Linked DNA regions of Homo sapiens: region 2 is linked to region 1. The links are contacts of gene promoters, found by promoter capture Hi-C in blood cells and fetal thymus (Javierre and others, 2016). All regions are on one chromosome and are shown on one strand. Each heading gives the region's core, a stretch centred on a gene start or on the middle of the fragment in contact. The rest is flanking DNA. Distances are from core to core; before and after follow the strand shown.

Region 1 (7,734 bases), core at 1,855-4,354:
TCTCACCCCAATTAATGTGAGTATTATCAAGAAAACTAAAAATAACAAATGCTGGCAAAGATATGGAGAAGGATAATTCTTATATATTGTTGTTGGTGGGAATGTAAATTAGTACAGCTATTATGGAACATGGTATGGAAGTTCTCATAAAAGCTAAAAATAGAACTACCAATTGATCTAGCAATCCCATTACTAGGTGTGTATGCAAAAGAAAGAAAATAGGTATGTCCAAGAGACATTTTCACTCCTAGCACTATTTATGTTAGCCAAGATATGGAATCAACCTAAGTGGCCAATCAACAGATGAATAATGAAAATATGGTGTATATATACACAATGGAATACTACTCAGTCAGTAAAAAGTATAAAATCTTGTCATTCATGGCAACATGGATGAGCCTGAAGGATATTTTGATAAATAAGTCAGGCACAGAAAAATAAATACCACATATTCTCATTCGTGTGTGGAAGCTTAAAAAGTTGGCAGTATAGAAGTATAGAGTAGAATATTGGCTGCTAGAGGCTGAGAAGGGGAAGAAGTGGGGTTATAGAGGTTAGTTAATAGATAAAAAATTATAGGATAGGAGGAATAAGTTCTAGTGTTCTATAGCGCTGTAGGATGACTCTGGTAAACAATTTATTGCATTTTTCAAATAACTAGAAGAGAGAATTTTGAATGTTCTCAATACTAAGAAATGATAAATTTTGAGGTGATAGAAATGCTGATTTTCCTGATTTGATCATTGTACATTGTATATATGTATCAAAATATCACACTGTACCCAATAAATATGTACATTATGTGTCAATTTTTAAAACAATTTCAAAATAACTAATATAAATGAATGAGTGAACAAATGAGTGAGGTTCTTAAGCAGACTTTGGTTCCCTTCCCCATGCTTGAGAAGTCCTTTTAGGGCCTTAGGTATGACTTAGTTCTTAGATATAGATAAACTAAAGTATGGTATGTAAGCAAATAGAAAGTTCATTTTAGGTTTGGGTCAGGTAAAAAGACATGCAGACATAAAAATTAAGAAAAGTTCAACCATTGTGGAAGTCAGTGTGGCGATTCCTCAGGGATCTAGAACTAGAAATACCACTTGACCCAGCCATCCCATTACTGGGTATATACCCAAAGGACTATAAATCATGCTGCTGTAAAGACACATGCACATGTATGTTTATTGCAGCACTATTCATGATAGCAAAGACTTGGAACCAACCCAAATGTCCAACAATGATTGACTGGATTAAGAAAATGTGGCACATATACACCATGGAATACTTTGCAGCTGTAAAAAATGATGAGTTCATGTCCCTTGTAGGGACATGGATGAAACTGGAAATCATCATTCTCAGTAAACTATCGCAAGGACAAAAAACCAAACACCGCATATTCTCACTCATAGGTGGGAATTGAACAATGAGAACACATGGACACAGGAAGGGGAACATCACACTCTGGGGACTGTTGTGGGGTGGGGGGAGGGGGGAGGGATAGCTTTAGGAGATATACCTAATGCTAAATGACGAGTTAATGGGTGCAGCACACCAGCATGGCACATGTATACATATGTAACTAACCTGCACATTGTGCACATGTACCCTAAAACTTAAAGTATAATAATAATAAAATTTAAAAAAGAAAGAAAACAAAGTTAGGAGACAGGCTGATGTGAACACTTGCTCAGGAAAATGAGTAAAAAAAATTTATTCAAAATTTGTAGTTTTGTTTAGCAAAGAAGGGGACTGAGATGTCTGGGTCTTATTATTGACATGAGAGGACAGAATATCATTTAAAGCAGACCTACAGGGTTTTTTCAAGTACACATGATAAACTGGTGGTTTAACAATGAAGACGGAAATTTTAATTTAAATATTTTAAATCTTTAATTTAAAGATTTTCTTCACCTGGGATTAGCAAAAAGGAAAATCTTCCTAGCAGGTTACTGAGAACACCTTACTTCAACTACATATCCCCCCCACATCTGTTTTACTTACTCAGAAATTATGTAATATTACATTTAAACAAAAAGTTTCATGTGCAGAAAAAAAGAGATCTGAAATAATATTGAAATATTAATGTCCATGTATCTATTAGATAAAATTATATAAGACTCCCAAGTATTACTGTCATAGAAGGAAGGGATTTTTCCTTTTACAAATGACCCTTTCCAGGGCTCCCTTCATGTCTCTGTTCCTCAGGCTGTAGATGAAGGGGGTCAGCATAGGGGTCACCACAGTGTACATCATAGCCATGACAGTGTCCTTTAGAGTAGAACTATTAGCTGATGGGCATAAGTAGAGACCAATAACGGTCCCATAGAACAGTGACACCACAGAGAGGTGGGAGCCACAAGTAGAGAAGGCCTTGCAGATACCCTTAGAAGAAGGGACCTTGAGGATGGAGGAGACAATTCTTGCATAGGACCCAAGGATGAGTAGGAATGGGATGACAAGAATGAGCCCTCCCATGATAAATATCACCCATTCATTAACTCGAGTGTCAGAGCAGGCCAGCTTCAGCAGAGCAGACATATCACAGAAAAAGTGGGGGATCACATTGTCTGCACAAAAACACAACCTGGCCATGAGTAAAGTGTGTAACATGGCATGGAAGGTGGTCAGCACCCAGGACAGCGCCACCACGGAGAGACAGAGCATGGGGCTCATGATGGCGGTGTAGTGCAGGAGGAAGCAGATGGCGGTGTAGTGCATGGGGAAGCAGATGGCCACATAGCGGTCATAGGCCATGGCCACAAGGAGGAAGCTCTCTAGATCCGAAAAATACAAGAAGAAGTACATTTGGGTCAGGCAGTCTGCATAGGGGATGGATGGGTCTTGGTTCTGCATGTTCTGCAGCAATTTGGGCATTGTGACTGAGGAAAAGCAGAGGTCAGAGAAGGACAAGTTGCTGAGAAACAAATACACAGGCGTGTGGAGATGGGAGTCCAGTCGAATGAGGACAATGATGAGGAGGTTCCCCAGGAGGGTGGTAAGATACATGGCCAAGAACAGGGCATAGCACAGGTTTTGCTGCTCTGGTTGGATGGGCAGGCCCAGGAGCAGGAAGTCTGAGATGCTGGTTTGATTTTGTCCCATCATGCTCTGTCTCCAGTATCTTTAAGAGAATATAATAGGGTCCCTCAAAACCGTGAATAAAAATAAATATATTCCTATGATACATGGTCAACAGGTGTTCAATCACTGATTTCACCCTCATTTTCCCTAACAACAATCTCTATATTCAGAGATTTCTATAATTATTTCTATAATCAGAAATGTGCCACATCACAAAATCCACGCTACTTTTCACACTGATCCATCTCACTTTGCATAACATGTAGCAAGATTGACTCCTCCTTTCTTTCTAAAACACTCTTATCTATTAGCTTCCGTGCAATCACACTGGTTTCCTGACACATATTGGCCATTCCTTCTTAACAACTGTAAATGGTTTCTTCTCTAACAGTATCTTATACGTTGCTGTTTTCTGGGAATTTTTCCTAAATTCTGTTCTAATTCTACAGATCAAGCCCTGAAAGAGTTCACCTGTCCCCGTGACACTGATTACCATCTGAACTTCCTGGGTAAACCTATCATCATTAGTACTGCATTAGCAGTTGCTTCCTGATTATCTCCCTATGGATCATGACCATCCTCAGCTTAACAGATCCCAGATGAAACTCGTTATCTCACCCTGCCACTCTTCCAATTTGCTCCTCCAGTCTCTCATATCTCAGTAAAAGGAATCCAGGCTCAAGTCAGAAACCTGGGAGTTTTCTTTCATTTATTTATTTCTCTCAAGATCAACATCTAATCCTAGCAAGTTATATAGATTCTGTACTTCATTCTATTTCTAATTCACCCACTGCTTATCCCAGTTGCCACAATCTGGAACAGGCTGACATCTTTTCTTGTCTGGACTATTGGAATAGTCTCTTACTTCATCTCCCTGCTGCTATGCTCACTAGCCTTCAATCCATTCACACTGTGGCGTTCTTTTTTTTTTTTTTTTTTTTTTTTTGAGATGGAGTCTCGCTCTGTCACCCAGGCTGGAGTGCAGTGGCGCAATCTCAGCTCACTGCAAGCTCCTCCTGCTGGGTTCACGCCATTCTCCTGCCTCAGCCTCCCGAGTAGCTGGGACTACAGGCACCCGCCATCGCGCCCGGCTAATTTTTTGTATTTTTAGTAGAGACGGGGTTTCACCGTGTTAGCCAGGATGTTCTTGATCTCCTGACGTCGTGATCTGCCCGCCTCAGCCTCCCAAAGTGCTGGGATTACAGGCCTGAGCCACCGTGCCCGGCCACACACTGTGGCATTCTAAGATAAAAATCTGATCATCATTCTCCTGCTCAGAGTCCTTATGGATTCTCATTATTCTTAACATATACACAAAATTCCTTTCAAGGACACAAATCATATTTCATTATCTGACCCATGCCTACCTCCACAGCCTCATCTGGTCCCACAATGACTCTTGCATCAGCATTCTCCAGCATTCTCCAGCAATGCTAGACTTAGAAGTCATAATTTCTTGCCTCCAGACGTTCACACTTGCTGTTCCTTCTGTGTAACATCTTACCTCTGCTTTTTTTTTTTTTTTTTTTTTTTTTTTTTTTTTTTTTTGAGACAGTCTCGCTCAGCCATCCAGGCTGGAGTGCAGTGGCACGATCTTGGCTCACTGCAAGCTCTGTCTCCCAGCTTCACGCCATTCTCCTGCCTCAGCCTCCCGAGTAGCTGGGACTCCAGGCACCCGCCACTACACCAGGCTAATTTTTTTGTATTTTTAGTAGAGATGGGGTTTCACCATGTTAGCCAGGATGGTCTCGATCTCCTAACCTCATGATCCGCCTGCCTCAGCCTCCCAAAGTGCTGGGATTACAGGCGTAAGCCACCACGCCCGGCCCCTCTGCCTTCTCTTACTTGGCATACCCCTGCTTCTCCTGCAGGTTTACTACATGTCACTGGCTCAGCTCAATCACTCAGACCAGGTGAGACCTGCTTCTAAGTTTCCACAGCATCTTGTACTCATCCAGCAGCATTCAATGACCTTGATTGCTTGTTTATAGCTGAGTTTCCTACCAAATTGTAAACTCCATACAGATAAGGCCATGACTGCCTTCGTGACTGCACCAAGGCCAGCAACTGGGATGGTGCCTGGATATGGCCAATGTTTCATTAGTATTTGTTGGCTGTCCTTCAGGCTGAGACATACACTCCTCCAACTTTATTTTTTATTTATTTTGAGACAGAGTTTCACTCTTGTTGCTCAGCATGGAGTGCAATGGCACGATCTCAGCTCACCGCAACCTCCGCCTCCCAGGTTCAAGCAATTCTCCTGCCTCAGCCTCATGAGTAGCTGGGCTCACAGGCAAATGCCACCACACCCAGCTAATTTTTGTATTTTTAGTAGAGACGGGGTTTCTCTATGTTGGTCAGGCTGGTCTTGGACTCCTGACCTCAGGTGATCCACCCGCCTCGGCCTCCCAAAGTGCTGGGGTTACAGGCGTTAGCCGCCGCGCCCGGCCCCTCCAACTTTAAAGCAGCCAACACCCATTGTAGTTTAACGACTCCTATTAAATCCTCCCAGAATAAGAATTCACTAGCCTTAACCATTTAGTGCTAGTTTTGACACTTTATTACAAAATTCTGAGATAAACTTCAGACCTATGGAAAATGTTAGACCATCCAACCACCCTACTCTTTATTTTAAAAAGACAGCCCATTATGCATGTTGACACTGTCATTTTGGTTTTGGTGTTGATGTCTACATGGTTCAGTTATGTTGACATGAAGAATTGTATCTGAAAGTTTCTATAATTTGGGGAGAAAGGGAACGAGGATATCCACCCTTGAGACCTCGCTGTACTTCCTCTCCAGATATCCATACCTCAAAATGCCTCTGAGCTAAGAAAGCTGAAGGGTGTTAGGGTACATGAGAAGTTCCTTCCCTAGAGGGATGTAGCTGAGTCTGTCGGGATCTTCACCCTGCTAGTGATGTTTAGTCTAGCCACGTTAACAGTTTTTCACATTTGAATATAATCTGCTAGTATTGTAGTAGGGAAATGGCATCAAGTGAAGTTTCACATGCCTGTTCTCTCAGAAGTTTGCCTACCTGGGAAATGAGTGGGACCAATCTCTGGTGTCAAGGGTCTTATTAGAAATTCCAAACCAGAGAGACATCACTTGTGAATGCTGCCACTGATCGGGAATATAAATTTCAGCTGCTCCCTCAATAATGCCTCTCATCTTCTTCACCTGGTAAATCTACAGTTCTCAGTCTGGACTGAATATAAGAATCACAAAGGTCACTGCTTCTAAAACTTTAATTTACATACAAACCACCTGGTGGTCTTGTTAAATGCTGATTTTGATTCAATAGGTCTGGTGTAGGGCCTAATATTCTACATTCCGAAAGTTAAAATTTCACATTTGGTGATGCCAATTCTGCTGTTCTGTGGACCACACTGAGTAGTAAGGACATATAATACATTTTAAAAATACAGATTACGGCACCATCCCCCAATAAATGTAATTAGAATCTCTGGAGGGGGCCTTAAGTAAGCTCCTTAAGTAATTCAAATATATGGCCGAGGGCTTGAAATCTCTGTATTAAATGCCTATCTCATAGAGATGTCATTATGTTGAAATGATACAATCATGAGAGAGGACATTGCATAGTATTAATGGACACTGTCATTAATAAAAAGATATTAAGTTGTGAACATTAAATCAAAATATTTCTGGAATGTAGAAAAGTCTTGAAAAGCAGAGAGGTGGAGAAAAGGAAAGTTATATCTGAAAAACTATCCTATAGAACATCATACAACTGGGGAAATCAAGACCCTCAGGTTGTAGGGATGCTAAGCTACCAGCTTATTCACCCTCCTGCCCAACTTACTCTGTGTCTGAGGTTAACTCCAGGGCCCTGATCCAAAATCCTCCTCCCCTTTATTGGTTGCAACAGCCTTTGTAGTCATCACCTGTGTCTGTACTCACCCTTCTGACATCTCTCTTTCTACCTATCCCTGGCCCTACCGGACTATGCATCCCGGAGAAGCCTAGATCCTGGAGGAACTCATTAAAAACAAAGTAATTACACAGGACGTCTCTAGAACAAATTATCTTAGAGTCCTGCAACAGTGACTGATTACAGCTGTTGATCACACCTTACTATACTTTGGGGGATCGGGGGATCATGAGAATGGAGAGAAGCTCAGGGATGGGTGTTTAATCATTGCCTGCTTAGGGAATGGAGAGCATGCCTGTGAGGTTGGGGCCTACATCTTGAGAAGTGAAGAAAAATGGTTGGAGAAGTCACAGAAGCAAGCAGGGACCAGACTGTAAATGTCCTAAAACATCTTAAGAGTCTAAGAGTTTAGGCTTTATCCTGTGGACAACAACAAGCCATCAGTGGTCTTTGAATAGAGGACCACCAGGGAAAGACATATGCTTTGGAAATATTTCCAGGTGGCAGAATCTCTTACTATAACCCAACTCCCTGTAAATAGGCCCTAGGAGAGAGAAAAATGGTAACCAACAAGGATCAGACTTCCATTATCCAACCATATACAGATATAAAGGACAGGAATAAGAGAAAAGATGAACTCTCCCGGATCACATTCAATTCTTCCTCAGGCAAATATGGAAAAGTAAATCCATATTTGCAGCCCTCTGAGTTACTTCTAGCTCCTTACCTCTCTAGGAAAACCTTAATAACCAGACACCATC
Region 2 (7,734 bases), core at 1,507-4,006, 340 kb before region 1:
TGGCCATTTTACATAATCACAATCTTCTTGGAGGCTTTGTTCATTTTTTAAAATTCTGTTTTCTTTGTCTTTGATGGGTTGGGCTTTTGAAAGCCTTGTCTTTGAACTCTGAAGTTCTTTCTGCTACTTGTTTGTTTCTATTGCTGGGACTTTCCAGTGCATTTTACATCTCTCTAAATATGTCTTTCATTTCCAGAAGTTGTGATTGTTTTTTATTTATGCTATCTATTTCACTGAAGATTTTTGCTTTCATATCCTTCATATCCTGTATCTTTTTTAGCAGGAAGAGCTGCAGACCAAACTCCTCAGACACCAAGTTAAAGAAGGAAGGGGTTTATTTGGCCAGGAGCATCGGCAAGACTCCTGTCTCAAGAGCTGAGCTCCCCCAGTGAGCAATTCCTGTCCCTTTTAAGGGCTCACAACTCTAAGGGGGTCTGCGTGAGAGAGTCATGATCAATTGAGCAAGCAGGGGGTACGTGACTGGGGGCTGCATGCACCAGTAATCAGAACAAAACAGAACAGGACAGGGATTTTTACAATGCTTTTCCATACAATGTCTGTAATCTATAGATAACATAACCAGTTAGGTCAGGGGTCGATCTTTAACTACCAGGCCCAGGGCGTGGTGACAGGCTGTCTGCCTTTAGATTTCATTTCTGCCTTTTAGTTTTTACTTCTTTCTTTGGAGGCAGAAATTGGGCATAAGACAATATGAGGGGTGGTCTCCACCCTTACTTTTTTTTTTTTTAATTTAAGTTGAACTTCACCTTTCTCGGGCACCTCCTTGATTAGCTTAATACTCAACTTTCTGAATTCTTTTTCTGGCAATTCAGAGATTTCTTCTTGGTTTGGATCCATTGCTGGTGAGCTAGTGTGATCTTTCAAGGGTGTTAAAGAACCTTGTTTTGTCATATTACCAGATTTGTTTTTCTGGTTCCTTCTCATTTGGGTAGACTATGTCAGAAGGAAGATCTGGGGCTCAAGGGCTACTTATCAGATTGTTTTTGTCCATGGGATCCCCCCTTGATATGGGGCTCTACCCCATCTCCTGGGGATGGGGCTTCCTGAGAGCCAAACTGCAATGATTGTTATTTCTCTGCTGGTCTAGCCATCCAACAGAGCTTCTGGGCTCTGAGCTGGTACTGGGGGGTGTCTGTGAAGAGTCCTGTGATGTGATCTGTCTTCAGTCCCTCAGGCATGGATACCAGTGCCTGGTCCAGTGGAGGTAGCAGTGGAGTAAAGTGAACTCTCATGGTCCAAGTGTTTATCTAGGAGTCTATGGTCCTTGGTTGAAGTTTTGTTTAGTGTACTAGTTGGCCTCCAGCCAAGAGGTGGTCCTTTCAAGAGTGCACCAGCTGTGGTAGCATAGGGGGGATACAAACTTGCCCTAAGGTGGCCTGGATAAGTATTCCAGTTTCTCAGGTGGTGAGTGGGACCATAGAGCTCCCAAGAGATTATGCCCTTTGTCTTCGGCTACCAGGGTGCGTAGAGAAAGACCATTAGGTTGGGGCAGGGTTAGGCATGTGTGAGCTCCGACTCTCCTTCGGTGGGGCTTGCTGTGGCCACTGTGAGGGATGGGGGTGTGGTTAACAGGCCAATGAAGTTATGTTCCCATGGGGATTATGGCTGCCTCTGCTGTGTCATACAGGTTGCCAGGGAAGTGGTGGAAAGCCAGCAGTGATAGGCCTCACCCAGCTCCCATGCTGTCCAAGTGGCCATGTCACTCCCAATGTGCCCTACCCCTAACAGTGCTGAGTTTATTTCCGGGTAGCTGGTGAGCAGGGCTGAAAACTTGTTCCAGGCTGCAAGTCTCCCTGTTGAGAAAGCAAGCAGCACTTTCAGGTTTCTGTTTTCCTGCCTGTGGTGGCTGCTGTGAATAGCCATTTTTAGAAAAATAAGTTTTCTGCCTCCTTTTCTTTCACTTTTCCTTCTGATACTTATGTAATGTGTGTATTTGTTTGATGGGTCCCATATGTCCCATAGGCTTTCTTCACTCTTTTTCCATTTGTTTCTCTTACTAGTACTTTCAAATGACCTGTTTTTGAGTAGTGAATTCTTTCTTCTGTTTCTTCATATCTGCTGCTGAAGCTCTTTTGAGTTTTTTAAAGTTTAGTCATTGTATTATTTAGCTCCAGAATTACTGTTTCTTTTTTGTGGTTTCTGTTTGTTGAAATTTACATTTTATTTATGTATTGATTTCCTGATTTTGTTTAGTAGTTTACCTGTGTTTTTGTGTGGGTCACCATGTTTCTTCAAATGATCACTTGAATTCTTTGTCAGGCAGTTCATATTTCTCCATTTCTTTGATGGTTTCTGAAGCTTTATTTTGTTCCTTTGGCTTTGCTAAGTTTCCTTGATTCCTTGTGTTTCCTGTAGCTTCACATTTGTGTTTGCACATTTGAAGAAGCAGTCATCTCTTTTAGTCTTTACAGGCTGGTTTTGATAGGGAAAGTCCAATTTGATAGGAACTGTTTTTCACCAGTCAGCTTAGCCAGATATTCTGGGCTGGCCAGTTGGCAGGGTCTATGGGCAGGCAGGCCTAGTGCTTGGGGATGTGGGTGGATGGGCCAGCTTCTGGGCACCATGCACAGGCCCACTGTAGGGTGCAAGGCCCCAGTTGTTAAAATACACATACTGACTATTAAGAGCTCCCAACCATTTTCTTATTTTTTTTTTTTCTTGTTCTTAGCTACTCAGAGGGGTCTGGCCATGTGAATTGCCTCAGTATTCTTGGTGAGGCATGACAGAAGTGGTCCTCTTGGTTAGCATCCTGAAAGTCAGGGGAAGTTGTACATATGTTTTATTTTCTTTTTTACTTATGGAAGAACTCATGAGATGAGGGGATCTCTCTTTGTGCTACTCTGTGCTGGCTTGGGTGAGGGGTGATTCAGGTAATGTGACAGAGTTTTTTCTACAATGTTCAATATGGTGTTTTTTCTACTTCTGTGTACTACCAGGGTGCTATAAACTTTCACTTGGATTCTGGAGCTCTCACAAAGGTATTTTCATCTGTGGATGGTTGATAAATTAGTCTGTATGTTGGTGGATGAGAGATACAACTGTCGATTCCACCATCTTGTTGACATCACTCCTTTCACCCGTTTTGAAATATCTTTTACCTGATGTCATTGCAGCAATATTTCACTTAAAATATTTAGTATTTTCCAAATATGTCTGTTTCTCTTTTTAATTTCAAGCTTTATATATTCCTGTGCTTTCATCGTGTCTCTTTAAATACATCTATCTATATTTTATTTTTTAATCAGTATGTTGAACATTACTTTTTAATTGATGAGTTAGGTCCATTTATGTTTAATGTAAATTTATGTACTTCCCCGAGTAGACTGTGACCTCACATTTGTAACCCAGTTTGAGGCCTCTGTACACTGTCATTATGAATAGAATGAGTTGATGAATGACTGCATGAATGTCAAATGAATTGAACACCACCTGTCGAGGTCTATATCACGTGCTGGATCAGCTGATACAAATATGTATGATTGCAATCTCTTTCAAACCTCCACAGCCATGTGACTAACTTTCTTATCAGCTACTATTTACTTTCTGTACTTTGGATGTGTGCTAGATGAGAGACACTTCTAGGTTTAAACTGGATATAGTCAGATAAGGCCAAGAATGTGGCCCTGTAGTCAAGTACATTGAAGAATTTGACCCTGCAACATTCTAGTGTTGGTGTTAGTGTGACCTTATTTACGGCCAAGGCTGATGAGACCTGGGGGACACCAGGTTACAAATATGTCTTTTTTATCACCACATATCTATATGCTGTCTCTGAGCTGGAGCCATGTCCCAATCACTGCTGTATAACACACAGGACAATCCCTTACATAGGGTGAAGGATATTCCTAGTCTCCACTTTAATGCTGTCTTTCCAAATTGCCCTCATGTCAGCCTCTTAAAGTGTTTATCTAGGAGTCTTCCCAGAGCCCCATGCATGTCCTTGTTCCTCAGGCTGTAGATGAAGGGATTCATCATGGGTGTCACCACAGCATACATCACTGTGGCTACTGAGTCCTTCACAGAGTAGGTATGGAGGGGCTTTAGGTATACCATACAAAGTGTCCCATAGAAGAGGGAGACTGCACCCAAATGGGAGGCACAGGTGGAGAAGGCTTTGTATTTCTTAGAGACTGAGGGTATTCTGAGGATGGCTCTGATAATCAGCACATAGGAAATGATCACGAATCCAAAGGGAATGAGGAAGATGAAGCAGCCTGTGGCAATCAGCACTGTGTGATTAATCTGAATGTTGGAACATGCCATCCTCAGCAATACATACATCTCACAGAAGATGTAGTGGATTTTTCGTGACCCACAGAAGGTCACTCTGGTCATGAGGAGGGTGTGTATGAGGCCATAGAGGACGGATAGGACCCAACACAAGGAAAGGAGTAAGATACAGAGCTTAGGGCTCATGGCTGTGGTGTAGTGGAGGGGGCAGCAGATGGCCACATAGCGGTCATATGCCATCACAGCCAGGATGAGGTTGTCCAGGGCCACCAAGGAGACCAGGAAGTAGAGCTGTGTCAGACACCCTGCATAGGAGATGGCTTTGTTATGGGACTGGAGGTTCACCAGCATCTTGGGGATTGTGTTGGTGACAAAGAAGAGGTCAGTGAAGGAGAGGTTGGCCAGGAAGAAGTACACGGGGGTGTGCAGGCGGGAATCAGAGCTGATGGCCAGGATGATGAGCACATTTCCCACCACCGTGACCAGGTACATGGACAGGAACATCCAAAACAGGATCCGCTGCTGCTCAGGACTCTCTGACATCCCCAGGAGAAGGAACTCTGAACCTTCACTCTGGTTGCCTCCATCCATTTCCCCAACTCTCTTTTAACATTAACACCAGCAAATGTTTACCAAAAGTCCTTAATTGAATAAAAACATGAAGATAAGCAAAATCAACATTTTCTTAGAATTAAGAATGTCTTACACCCAATTTTATAATTTTTGAAAATAAGAAAGTGAAAAATATAACAAAGTTTTTATGCGATATAATTATTTCAGCTACTTCAAAGCTGGGAAACTCAATGTTAAAGGAATAATGTGTAATTCTTATTTTCAATCCTGTCATCTTACACTATTCTTGAAGTGTTTGGTGATTAGTGTGTTATGATATGTATATGTGTTAAAATAATTAATATAGATACATGCAGTATAAGTAGTTCAAAAAAGGAAGAAAATAAAAGTATTTGAAAGGAGTAGGAACAATTATTATTTGTTGATATGATGATCTATCTGAAAAAAGTGGGACTATCCACTGAAAGACTACTAGAAATAGAGTTTAGAATACTTGAAATCAAGTCTTTCCCTGCTAGTAAGATAGTACGCACTGCCACTTACTTGCTGTGAAACCTCAGGTAGGGTTCCAGAGTTCCTTAAGACTCAGTTTCTTCATGCGAATCATGAGTTATAGGGTGGGGGAAAATTAAGTAGTAAAGTGCTTAACACAAGGAGTTGGTAGGCAATTAGCACTCAGAAATGTTGCCTATTATTGTTATATTTAACGAGAATCAGGAAAAATGTTATAATGAAAAACTATCTCATCCCCACTGTCAACAAATAAATCATGGCACTCAGATGTTAACAAGAATCAGGCGAAACCTTCAAATTCTCCAGTGAGGGGTAAAGTAAAAATTAAATAAATTGATAAACATATCAAGGTTTCTAATATGAAGAGAAGTGTCACCAAGCTATATACTCTTTTGAATTAATTGAAAGTTTACTGGATATCAAAATTATAACAGGGTTTTGGAGAAATGAAACTGGTCTAAATTTCATCTAAATATAAGCATGTAGATAAGCTAGAAAAACATTGAATAAAAGAATAACAGGGTGATGCTTGCACATCAAATATTAAGAATTCTAAAGCAATATGATAGTAATGTTGGAATGAACAGATCAGTAGAAACTTCACAGATAGACACAAAAACGTGGAATTTGGCAGATTAATTTGGGTGCACTGTATATTAGCCGGTAAATTCTGCATGGGTACACTCTATATTAGCAAGTAAAGCCTGCATTATTCAAGAAATGGCACATTGAGATAACTGTGTAATTAATTTCGGAGGACTAGTTCGAACAATATTTTGTATCTTATCAAACACATTTAAAACATACTAAAGATTAAAATACTATAGTGTGCCTTTTTTTCCTTCGAAAGCCTAATGTGTATAGAATAAAATGTTTAAAAAATCAAAAAAGAAAAAAGAAACATGTATATGTAAAAATATAAAAAAATGTAGTATATATAAAACAGCTGAATGCGGTCAGGGAAAGAGTAAGATCTCTTCCAATACTACTGACAGTTCTCAGTGACTGTGGGAACTAAGCAAATAGGTAAATACCAATAACCAGCCCCATTAGGGGAGACTAGTACCCTGAATTGTTACAATAAATTATCTAAAATGTCCATATTCCAACAAAATTTATGAACCATGAAAAGAAACAAAGTATGATCCACATATGAGGAAAAAATCAGGCAACAGAAACTACCTGTGAGCACAATGTGATGTCAGCCTTCTTTGAAAAGACCTCAAAGTAGCCATTGAAAATATTTTCACAAAACTAAGAGAAAGCATGATTAGGGAAGTAAAGGAAGGTACAGTGAGAATGTCATGACAAATGGGGAATATCAATAAAAAGAATGGATAAAAGAGAGCCAAATGGAAATCCTGCAGTCAAAATGTACAGTAACTGAAATGAAGATTTTATTAGTCAGGCTGAATAGTAGTATTGAACTAGCAGAAAAAATAGCATTCTTTAAGATAGATTGATATCAAGCTGAAAAATAGAGGAAGAGAAAAAATGAAGAAAAATGAACAGAGACTCAGAAAAGTGTGGAGCACCATTAAGCATACCAGCACACATGGAATGCAAGTGCTGAAGGACAGGAGAGAGAAAAATCAGAAAAAAAATCCAAAGAAAGAATGGCTGAAAACGTAGTAAATTTGTTTAAAAAACTACACATATAGGAAACTCGACAAACTTTAGGCAGAATAAATACAAAGAGATTCACAAATAGACACATCATAGTAAAAAGGCTGAAAGGCAGAGACAAGGAGAAAATCTTGAAATCAGCAAGTAAAAAAGATTTTTTACTTACAAAGGAAGCCTAATAATATGAACAACAGACTTCTCAACAGAGACAAAGGAGGCTCCAAGACAGTTGGATAACATATTCAAAATGGTTGAAGAAAAAACCCATCAAGTAAGAGTCTAATATTCAGCAAAACTATCTTTAAAAGAATGAAGGCCAAATAAAGATTATCTCAGGTGAACAAAAACACAGAAAATTTTTGCTAGCAGACCTATCTTATAAAAACTACTAAAGAAATTTCTTTAGGTTGAAAGTAAGTTACCTCAGATGATAATTTGAATCCACATGCACAAAAAGGAAAGAACAGTGATAAAGTATGAAAATGTGATATTATAAATGTATGTAAATATGTAAATATATATTGATATAATCTATATATCTATGTAATATTTTACATATATCTATTAAGTATGACAGTATAAATTCATATTTTCTTGTTTTTTCTTATAACTTATTTAAACACCATTTATGTAAGATAATATGTATATGATGTATCGTTGAGGCCATAGCATATAGAAATATATGTATAACATGTTTGTCGATTACAGCATAAAGGAGCTGGGTGGAGGCAAAGTTGGACTAAGGAAATGACTACAGAAGGTATAGTAGTA

Evidence for each region. The method cuts DNA at HindIII sites, captures the fragments that hold promoters and counts their contacts. A CHiCAGO score of 5 or more calls a contact.
Region 2: a fragment that was not itself captured here is called in contact with the fragment with the promoter of OR1E2 in region 1 in 7 of 17 cell types (M2 macrophages, M0 macrophages, M1 macrophages and 4 more); the score reaches 12.6 in M2 macrophages.

The regions. Positions count from the first base shown.
Region 1 is chr17:3,430,737-3,438,470 of GRCh38, forward strand. OR1E2 (olfactory receptor family 1 subfamily E member 2) reads right to left here and starts at 3,105. Exons shown (of 1, transcript NM_003554.2): 1 at 2,134-3,105. The coding sequence starts at 3,105. The coding sequence ends at 2,134. The HindIII fragment of the contact is 9,794 bases long and covers 470-7,734 here.
Region 2 is chr17:3,088,155-3,095,888 of GRCh38, forward strand. It overlaps OR1D2 (olfactory receptor family 1 subfamily D member 2), which reads right to left. Exons shown (of 2, transcript NM_002548.3): 2 at 330-4,892. The coding sequence starts at 4,842. The coding sequence ends at 3,904. Among named protein-coding and RNA genes, the nearest start is that of OR1D2, 12 kb to the right of the region's middle. The HindIII fragment of the contact is 878 bases long and covers 2,318-3,195 here.